Regions from separate parts of the Homo sapiens genome. Here all the other regions are linked to region 2. Evidence: promoter capture Hi-C in 16 types of primary human blood cells and fetal thymus (Javierre and others, 2016). All regions are on one chromosome and are shown on one strand. The core of a region is centred on a gene start or on the middle of the fragment in contact, and the rest is flanking DNA. Distances in the headings are between cores, read along the strand shown.

Evidence for each region. The method cuts DNA at HindIII sites, captures the fragments that hold promoters and counts their contacts. A CHiCAGO score of 5 or more calls a contact.
Region 1: a fragment that was not itself captured here is called in contact with the fragment with the promoter of TMEM107 in region 2 in 1 of 17 cell types (neutrophils); the score reaches 5.5 in neutrophils.
Region 3: a fragment that was not itself captured here is called in contact with the fragment with the promoter of TMEM107 in region 2 in 1 of 17 cell types (activated CD4 T cells); the score reaches 6.1 in activated CD4 T cells.

What each region holds. Positions count from the first base shown.
Region 1 is chr17:8,789,358-8,792,528 of GRCh38, forward strand. No RefSeq gene overlaps it. Among named protein-coding and RNA genes, the nearest start is that of MFSD6L, 8.4 kb to the right of the region's middle. The HindIII fragment of the contact is 2,963 bases long and covers 1-2,912 here.
Region 2 is chr17:8,175,060-8,178,086 of GRCh38, forward strand. TMEM107 (transmembrane protein 107) reads right to left here and starts at 1,321. Exons shown (of 5, transcript NM_183065.4): 1 at 1,141-1,321; 2 at 900-967; 3 at 698-798. The coding sequence starts at 1,227. All of the region lies in intron 2 of LOC105371520 (a long non-coding RNA gene), which reads left to right. RefSeq lists enhancers at 709-758, 809-868, 860-1,471, 899-948, 1,109-1,198 and 3 more. The HindIII fragment of the contact is 13,203 bases long and covers 1-3,027 here.
Region 3 is chr17:7,322,743-7,325,615 of GRCh38, forward strand. It overlaps NEURL4 (neuralized E3 ubiquitin protein ligase 4), which reads right to left. Exons shown (of 29, transcript NM_032442.3): 8 at 2,467-2,731; 9 at 2,057-2,238; 10 at 1,653-1,738; 11 at 1,366-1,528; 12 at 1,072-1,270; 13 at 905-981; 14 at 743-821; 15 at 206-381; 16 at 1-124. Among named protein-coding and RNA genes, the nearest start is that of NEURL4, 5.2 kb to the right of the region's middle. RefSeq lists enhancers at 599-1,105, 1,106-1,611, 1,353-1,562. The HindIII fragment of the contact is 3,934 bases long and covers 1-2,873 here.

The sequences.
Region 1 (3,171 bases), core at 181-2,680, 610 kb after region 2:
GAAGTCTAAGACTTTACGACCCAGTCCTTCCTCCATACGCCGGCTTATTTCATAAACTCCATGAGGGTCTTTTCAGAAGGTCCCTGCGCTCAGCTGTCCTGTCTGCCCAGAGAGAAATGCTCACTATTTAAACTTCTCACTTGACATTTACGTTGTCCTGTCCCATTCTGTTTGTGGACATGGTTTTGTGGTTCGGCCTTTCCTTCTAAATTGTCAGTATTGTTCCCAGGCAGGCTTTGTCATAGAAACAAAGTGCAGTTCAAGGTTTCACATCTGCACAAATAGGCAGGGTGGGTAGCATCGGCCTCATATCCAAGGGAGAGAGTCCGTTGAGTGTTACTCCGATCGGACGGGGGGGGTAGTTCACATGTGCATCCCCAAACAATGATTGCGGCCCTGTGAACAAAATGTGCAGAATGGCATAAAGCCATTGGGAGGTGACATTAATTACCCCGGGAAGATGTGGGAGGCATCTGGTGACGTTATGCAGGAGGGAGTGGTAGACGCGTTCCTAAAGACTCACCCAGCACCCTGAAGGATCACAGCCTTGCTCAGTACATACTTATGAAGGAAGGGTGACCTGAAGAACGCTTGAGCCCAGGGCCTTCACTCTGAACTTACTTCCCTCTATCACAGCCTCTGACTCTGCAACACCTCACCCCAGGGTGCCGCCAGCATAAAGACAGAAGCCTGCAGGGCTCAACAAGGAGAAGGGGCAAAGTGAAGAGAATTCGGGAAGCTCGTGACAGCAAAATCACAGGTCATGGAGTAAAGGGAAGACGAAATTAGAAAGGAGGTTTCCTAATTTGGGACATTGGGAAGATATCTGGCAGAAAATCTGCCTCAAGCAGGTTCATCTGTTTAATTAACCTGAGGCCAGTGACTGTTTTGTTGTTGTTGTTGTTTTATCCATGAAATGTGACCAGCATGAAAAATCTGATATGCATATTTCAGAGGACAGCCCCTGTGACATTCGTCAGCTTATTAAAGGAAACAATATGCCCTAAAACGTGAAAAGCCACTTCCTTGAAACCAAGTCGAGGGGGAATGGTAAACCAAAGTTAGCAGAAATAGAAAAGTAGGGTGTTGGTCAGGAAAGACTTCCTATAGAGATGTGCCTGTCAGAAAGATTACTATTCCCATCCCGCATGCTGGAGACCCATGTGGCAAACAGTGTGGCAGGGACAGACTTTGTTTAAACGAAGGAATTTGCACTGAAGATCATCTTCCGCATTTTTATAAACTTTGAAAGCAGTCAGTGGTCTCAGCATTTTCCTACAAAGGCCATATCCCCACGCGTACATTTGAATTCTCAAAAGCTCTTTCTCCAAAAGCATTGCTAATAAAAAATGTAAAAAAAAAGAATTGTCAAAGGGGCCTCTAGAGATCATTTGACTTGGTTCAATATCTTTAGGCTTGTGAGTATGTAAAACTATCCAAGACACAAAGTTATCAAGTCTTTTTGTTTTGTTCTGTTTTTTTTTTCCTCCCATTAAAGCATTCTAGAAACAAAGACCACTGCTCTGAAGCATTTACTATTCTGATAGGTAATGTGCTCTTATAGTCACCTGAGGCTGTTGTTATTCTTGTGTACTTCTATGCTGCTGATTAATTTTCAAAAGCACGGTACAGAGAAAGGGTGCTCAACATTACTAGTTATTAGGGACATGAGAATTAAAATCACAGTGAGATACAGTCTGTCCTCTGTATCTGTGGGCTCCGTACCTGCTGATTCAACCAACCATGGATCAAAAATAATCCAAACAACAACAAAAATAATACAGATGCAAAAGTAGGGAATAACAACTACTTACATAGCATTTACATTATATTAGGTATTTTAAATAATCTAGAAATGATTTAAAGTATATAAGATGATGTGCATAAGTTATATGCAAATACTATGCCATTATATAGAAGGGACTTGAGCATCCTTGGATTTGGTATCTGTAGGAGGTGGTCTTGGAACCAATTCCCCAAGGATACCAAGAAACAACTCTACTACTACATGCCTGTTAGAACGGTTAAAATTAAAGAGATTGATTTTACTGAGTGTTGGTGAGGGTGTAGAGAAGCTGGAACTCTCATGCCCTGCTGGTGGGAATGTAAAATGGCACAACCACTTTGGGAAACTATTAGCAGTTCTTTAAAAGTTAAACATATGTCTACCATATGATTTGGTCAATCCACTCCTTGGTATTTACCCAAGAGAAATGAAAGCGTGTGTTCACACAAAGACTTAGATATGAATATTCATAAAAGTTTTATTTGTAATCATCAAAAACTGAAAGCAATTACATGTTTGGAATTGAAATGTATGGTAATATAATACAATATAAATGAATGGATAAATCGTGGTATATCCATGCAATGGAATACTACTCAGCAATGAAAAGGAAGAAACTATTAATGCACTTAAGATCATTGCTGATTTTCAAATTAATTATCCTGTGTAATAAAGAATTTGGCCTTTGTCCCCAGTTCCTGGGAGATAGGCTCTAAATCCTTGGAATTTTCCAAGTCGAAGAGTGTCTTTTTTACTGGTGGTTGGCCTGTCAACCACACTTGAGTTTATGCTAATGAGGTGACTCATGATGGGACCTTACACAATTTATGCTAATGGAATGACTCAAGATGGGGGCTGGCCATGCCAGAAAAACCAACCATGTATTTAGAAGGTTGGGGCTTTGAGCTTTTGATATAGGCCTGACTTCTGGGGAGAGGAGCAGGGCTGAAGATTGAGTCATAGGCCAGTGATCCAATGAGTCATGCCTATGTGATGAAGCCCCTAATAAAAACAATGGATATCAAAGCTCGGGTGAGTCTGACTGCTTGGCTACGCTCAGTGTCTTGTCTCACATCAGTGTGCTGGAAGGGTCCTTTGTCCTGACTCCACAAGGAGAAGACATGGAAGCTTCATGTTTGGGACACTCCCAGTCCTTGCCCTGTGCATCTCTTCTTTTGGCTGGTTCTGATTTTGAAAACTTTGGCTACAATAAAACTGTAATAATAAGTGTAGTTCTTTCGTGGGTCTTGTGGGGTTTTCTAGTGAATTACCAAACCTGAGAGGGGAGTGGGAAGCCCCCAAAATTGTGACTGCATCTGAAGTGGGAGCAGTCTTGAGCCCTTAACCTTGAGCCTAGCTCCTGGTAGTTGTTGTCAGAAGTCATT
Region 2 (3,027 bases), core at 71-2,570:
TGCTTTATATCTTTTGTTTGTTTTTTGACAGAGTCTTGCTCTGTTGCCCTGGCTGGAGTGCAGTGGCACGATCTCAGCTCACTGCAACCTCTGCCTCCCGGGTTCAAGCAATTCTCCTTCCTCAGTCTCCTGAGTAGCTGGGATTACAGGAGTGCGCCGCCACGCCCGACTAATTTTTGTATTTTTAGTAGAGACGGGGGTTTCACCATGTTGGTCAGGCCGGTCTCGAACTCCTGACCTCAGGTGGTCCACCTGCCTCGGCCTCCCAAAGTGCTGGGATTACATGCGTGAGCCATCGCGCCCTGCCTGTGCTTTCTATCTTCACACACTTCTATAGCACAGTGCTTATCACACTGAATTACAGATTTGTATCTACCTCCTCCTCATTGTAAAAAGAAACGGTGGGGTTTTTATTATTCCTATTATTTTTGTAGACTTGGGTTCTCACTATGTTGCCTCCTGCCTGCGCCTCCCACAGTGCTGGGATTACAGACGTGAGCCAACATGCCTGGCCAAAAACTGTATTTTACTCTCATTTTGGGATTTTAAGTGCCTAGTAAACAGCAGGATTTAGCACATCGTTGAAGATCTTTGAACTGGAAGGATTGGCTACAGCAGACACTATTGTGTCAGGTGGCTGAAGGGAGTCCTGATAGAAGTGGGTCGTGTGGGAAAGGTGGGCAGGCAGAAAGGATACAGATGAGGCTCTGGGTGCTGTTGAACATGGAGACTCCTGAGAGGAAACCGGCCAGCTCCACTGCAAAGAGGCCCAGGGTGACAGAGAGCGCGGCCACCAGCCTGCAGAGAGGAAGTGGACTGGCCCAGGCCTTTGGACTTATTCTAAGACCCCTCCACTCCCACCACCTCTTCGTTCTGGCCACCCCGTCCCAAGAGCTCACTGAATGTCCTGCTTGTCATACTCCTCGGGGGTGAACGTGAGAGGCAGGCAGGCCTGTATGTTGCTGTCCTGGGAGCAGGGCACAGGAAGAGAAGTGAAAAAGGGGCAGGCTGCAGGGCAGGCCTGGGGGCGGCGGGAAACAAGAAAACCCAAGAGGGTAAGACACTGGGAGGGGGCAGGGTAGGACTAGGACCACTCAGAGATGGGAATGGGGACGGATTGAGTGCAGCCGTGGGTCTTACCCGGGACCAGAATAAGGTGATGACGACCACCAGATGCGCCAGGAGCGTCAGGAAGCGAGAGGGCACAAGCCCTGAGACCCGGCCCATGGCCCTCGGGGACAAGGGCGGCGGTCTCTGAGGCTGGAAGTTCAGAGACAGCGACTCCTGAAGTCTCCCCGCAAGCCGACAAATCTAGACGAACGCCTCCTTCCCGCCCGCTCAGGCACCGCCCAGTTGCCTTGGTAACCGTGTACGCGGGCTCGGCGCCGCGTTCTCGGAAATCCTCGCGAGCAGTACATTCTCCGGCTGCTGCGGGTCTCTCAGGGCCAGCGAAGGTCAGGGGTACCCGAAGGCGCTTCTAACCTAACGGCTGGGTACCCGCGCGCAGCCAGGCCCTTTGTTCCTCAGAGGGTGCGAGGTGGCACAGCCCCGCAGCGCCCGATCTGCCCACGCAGGGCGGATGAACGGAAACCCACCCTGGCCTAGCTTGGGGACACCAATGCTTCTGCTGTTGCCCACGCCGGGAGCGGCCCCCAGCCCCAGCTACGCTGCCCAGTTGTGGATCACTTGAGACCGCTGCCACCACCACGCCGGGCTGAGTTCCCCGCCATGCCGAAGACTCAGACCCGCTCCCCTTCCCCTCCTCTGCATGCCTTTAGCTTCCCACCAAGCTGGGCCTGAGAAACAAGGGACCCGAACCTGGAGAGGCCGGTGTTCCTGGACTGCTCTGCAGTCACAGATTGTCACGGAGCCCCTGGTTGTCTGAGGACCCCAGGCCTGAACCTTCCTTGAGGAAGACTGATTTCTTTCAGACTACTTTGCTCAGTTTGGTGAGGGATTTGCAGAGTGCAAAAAATGGCCAGCGTCCTTAAACTAGCATGGGGATAAGAGCAGAGCAAGGTGGCTGGAAAGAGTGGGAGTGGACGAAGGGAATGGGACAGTCCCTGCGTCTCTGGGAGGCTTGGAGCCGGCTGGAAGGGAAACTCAACTCAGATTTCTTTGTCCCTTGGAGGTGCTGGGCCTCCGACATTGCCCAGCTACAGTCCAAGAAGCTCTTATCATCGGCGACCTCATGACCTTTGGGCCTCAGCGCAGGTCCCTGCAGATCTGAAAGTTCTTTAATTGCTGAGTCAAGTCCCATCCTCAAGGAACCTCCCGGCCCATCTCCCAGGAGAACAATCTCTTCCTACTCCCCACTCCCCATCTCAGTGCTTTTAGCCAGCCTAAACTACAAGCCCAAGAGGCATTTCTCATTCCTTCAACAAATATTTGTATATGTTTATTGATTACCTAGTAAGGGTATTCTAGTCAGGGAGATCAACAACAGACATGCAAACAAATAAATCCGTAAGATAATAGGCGCTACAAACAGGGAAAAGCGGGCTGTGCACTGTGGCTCACACCTGTAATCCCAGCGCTTTAGGAGGCCTAGGAGGGCGGATCACCTGAGGTCAGGAGCTCGAGACCAGACTGACCAACATGCTGAAACCCTGTCTCCACTAAAAATACAAAATTAGCCGGGCGTGGTGGCGCGTGCCTGTAATCCCAGCTATTCGGGAGGCTGAGGCATGGGAATCGCTTGAACCCAGGAGGTGGAGGTTGCAGTGAGCCGAGATCGCGCCATTGCACTCCAGCCTCTGCAACAAGAGCGCAACTCCGTCTCCAAAAAAAAAAGAAACGCTAGAATTATAATTCTATAAAAATAGGGCATTTATAATTCTATTAAAATAGAGCATTTATTTTGTTTTATTTTATTTATTTACTTTTTCTGAGACGGAGTCTCGCTCTGTCTCCCAGGCTGGAGTGCAGTGGCGCAATTTCGGCTCACTGCAAGCTCGGCCTCCCGGGTTCACGCCATTCTCCCGTCTCAGCCTCCTGAGTAGCTGGGACTACAGGCGCTCGCCACCA
Region 3 (2,873 bases), core at 55-2,554, 850 kb before region 2:
TGCAGTGGGAAGGACTTCTCGGTGGCAGTGTTGCTGGTCGCCAGGCTGTTGTCCATGGGGCCGGTGGCATTGGTGATGGACACTTGGACACACTGGCCATAGAGATCGACTACCGCATACACCTCTGGGGAGGAGAGGGAAGGTCAGAAGCCTGACAGCCAGGTGGTCTGGGCTGAGGGTGGCAGGCTGAAAGCCACATAGTCACCTTTACCCGGAGGCAGGCCCGAGCAGGCAGCGCCTTGGTCCTGGCCGTTGATGAAGTAGTGCAGGTCGCCCTTGGCAGTTCGCATCATGCCAATGCGTGCACCTGTGCCCAGCGCATCCAGGTCACACCCATAATTGTTGCGCATCGTGTTACCGTCTTGCATGATGGCTGTACCACTGGGGGGATGGCAGAAGGGGTGAGTCAGCCTGCCAACTTCAACTTCACATTGGCCCCTGCCCACTCCCTGTCTGTCAGAACCCTCCAATGTCTTGGGCTGGTGTCTTGATCTGGGTGTAAGGCCCAATCCTATCTCCTCTGTCCCTGGGATCCCCTTAGGAAAAAGCAAGAACTGCCTAAGATGAAGGAGGACTGAGCCCCTGTGGGCCTGGGCAGGACTTCCCAGAATTCAAGGGGAGGGGACAGGTAGATCCCCTAGGTCTGTCACTACCCACAGCCACCATAGGCCCAAACCTTGCTTCCCTGATCCCAGCCAGCTCCACTCAGCCCCAAGCTGGTCCCCAAAGCAGGAAGCCCAACCTCAGCATCCATGTGTCATAGTCAATGTCTGTCATGGTGTTGGGGAATTCCAGGTCTTCAGGCCGAATAGCAGTCACTCCTGGGAGGAGGCAGGGGTAAGTCAAGGCCGATCCCCAAGGCACAGACATCCAACAGCCCCCAACACACACAGACGGCCCTCACCAGCCTCAATGGAGCCTGACCAGCGGTCCACCATCTTCTGAATGACAATTTCAAACAGCTCTCCATCCCGCAGGGCCCTGCCAGGAGACTGGCGATCAGAGAGGCTCTACTTGCATGGCTGAGGCTGGGCAGGAGGAAGGTGGGGACATGAAAGTTGAGAGACTGACCGGTTGGAGATGACGATGGCGTCATTAAACTCGCTGCGACAGTTGTGGCGGAGGGCGGTGCGGCCCCCGTTAGTGATGACTGCGTTACTGCCGTGCAGCTGATGGAAGCGCAGGTCAGAGCCCCCGGCCCCTGAGGACGGAGAGCTTGGAGACACCTGGTTGTTCCCCTCAGGGAGTGGTTCAGGAACTGGAGCCACCTCTGTAAAAGTGGACATCACCCATCAGGTCTCTAGGTGTCTCTCAGACCTCCCAAGGCCACCCTAACCCCCAGCCCCAGCCCAGCCCGGCCCTCACCCACGTCGTCCACAATGGTGGCCTGGGCCGCCTGGCCATAGAGATCGACGACAGCATAGACGCCCGGGGGCACGTTCCAGGCAGCAGGGCCCTGAGTCATCCCATTGACAAAGAAGTGGAGAGTCCCGTCCTCCCGCCGTACCACGCCCACCGTGTCCCCTGCCTTGGAAGAAGGGGGTGCTGGAGTGAGGAGTCAGGCAGAGTTCCTGCCGGGGCTGGTCCTGCATCAGCCCCGCGGTGTTTGTGATGCCCGCTGCGGCCGCCAGGCGGCGCACCCACTTTCCCACCTTGAGGCGGTCCAGATTGTGCCCGTATTCATCCAGGATGGTCGTCCCATTGTGCATCACCCCATTCCCAGTCATCATCCAGGTCCCTGGGAGGACAAGGAGCAGGAGGGGACATGAGGGGAAATGCAGGGCTCCTCTCCTTGCCACAGCAGCGCCCACAGGACTCCCGAGCCCACAGTCCACCTTGCCTTTTCTTTGATGACTAGATTTCTTCCCTGAGCAGGACAAGAAAACTCTGCAGCTTCCAAGACAGCCACAGCCCTGCCCACGGGACACTCTCTAGCCACTGAATGAGTGGTCACAAGAGTGACAAGTGAAAAAGGAGCTGCAGAACAAGTGCCAGGGCTTTGGGGATAGCTTCCCCCCAAAACCCTATCCTGTCCCTGCCCTTCCTGGGAGCTCACCAGAGCGCAAGTTGGTCATGGTGGAGGGCAACTGGAGGTAGGCAGGGTTGTGGGTGGTGACACCAATTTCAATGGAGCCAGCCCATTTGTCCACCATCTTGTCGATGCGCACCTGGAACACCTCTCCATCCCGCAGGGCTCTGCTGCTCAGCACCACGCCGTGATTGAAGTCATCGGTGGCACTGAGGGCACAGCAAGTGGAGAGTCAGATCCCCAACACACGCTCTCAATGTGCCAAGGCTTAGCCCAGCAATGCCTGCCAACACTCACTGCCCCAAGCCAAAGAACTAAAGCTCAACCTCCAGGAAGCTGCCCCCGCCAGGCTCCCTCTGCCTTCCACTTCCTTGCCCCGCCCCCCCCCCCCCATTAGAATCCCTTCTTCAGGCTTCTCCCCACCCCATGGGCCATACTGGGGCCTCAGGGCAGTGCGTCCCTCGTGGGTGATGGCTGCCTTCTGCCCACAGTTGGGGTGGAAGAGCAGGCGCTCAGGTTCTGCCTGGGCGGCAGGGGCAGCACGGCGGAGAGCACCCTCGGGGGACAGCGCCCGCAGGATGGCGTTGTTTCGGCGGAGACGGTCACTGTGGTTGTTATTGTGGACGATGGTCACCTTCACTGCCATCCCGTACAAGTCCACCACACCATACACCACTGGGGGCGTCAAGGGGGTTGCCACTCCTGTGGCAGGAAGGTACGGGGGTGTGGGAGTGGACAGGGAGAATGAGGGGAGAAAGTCAAACACAGGGAGGCCAAGCACCAAAGAGAAGCAGGAGGATGAGGTACAGCCCCCAGTCCCAGCCCCACCGAAAGCCCCGGCCCA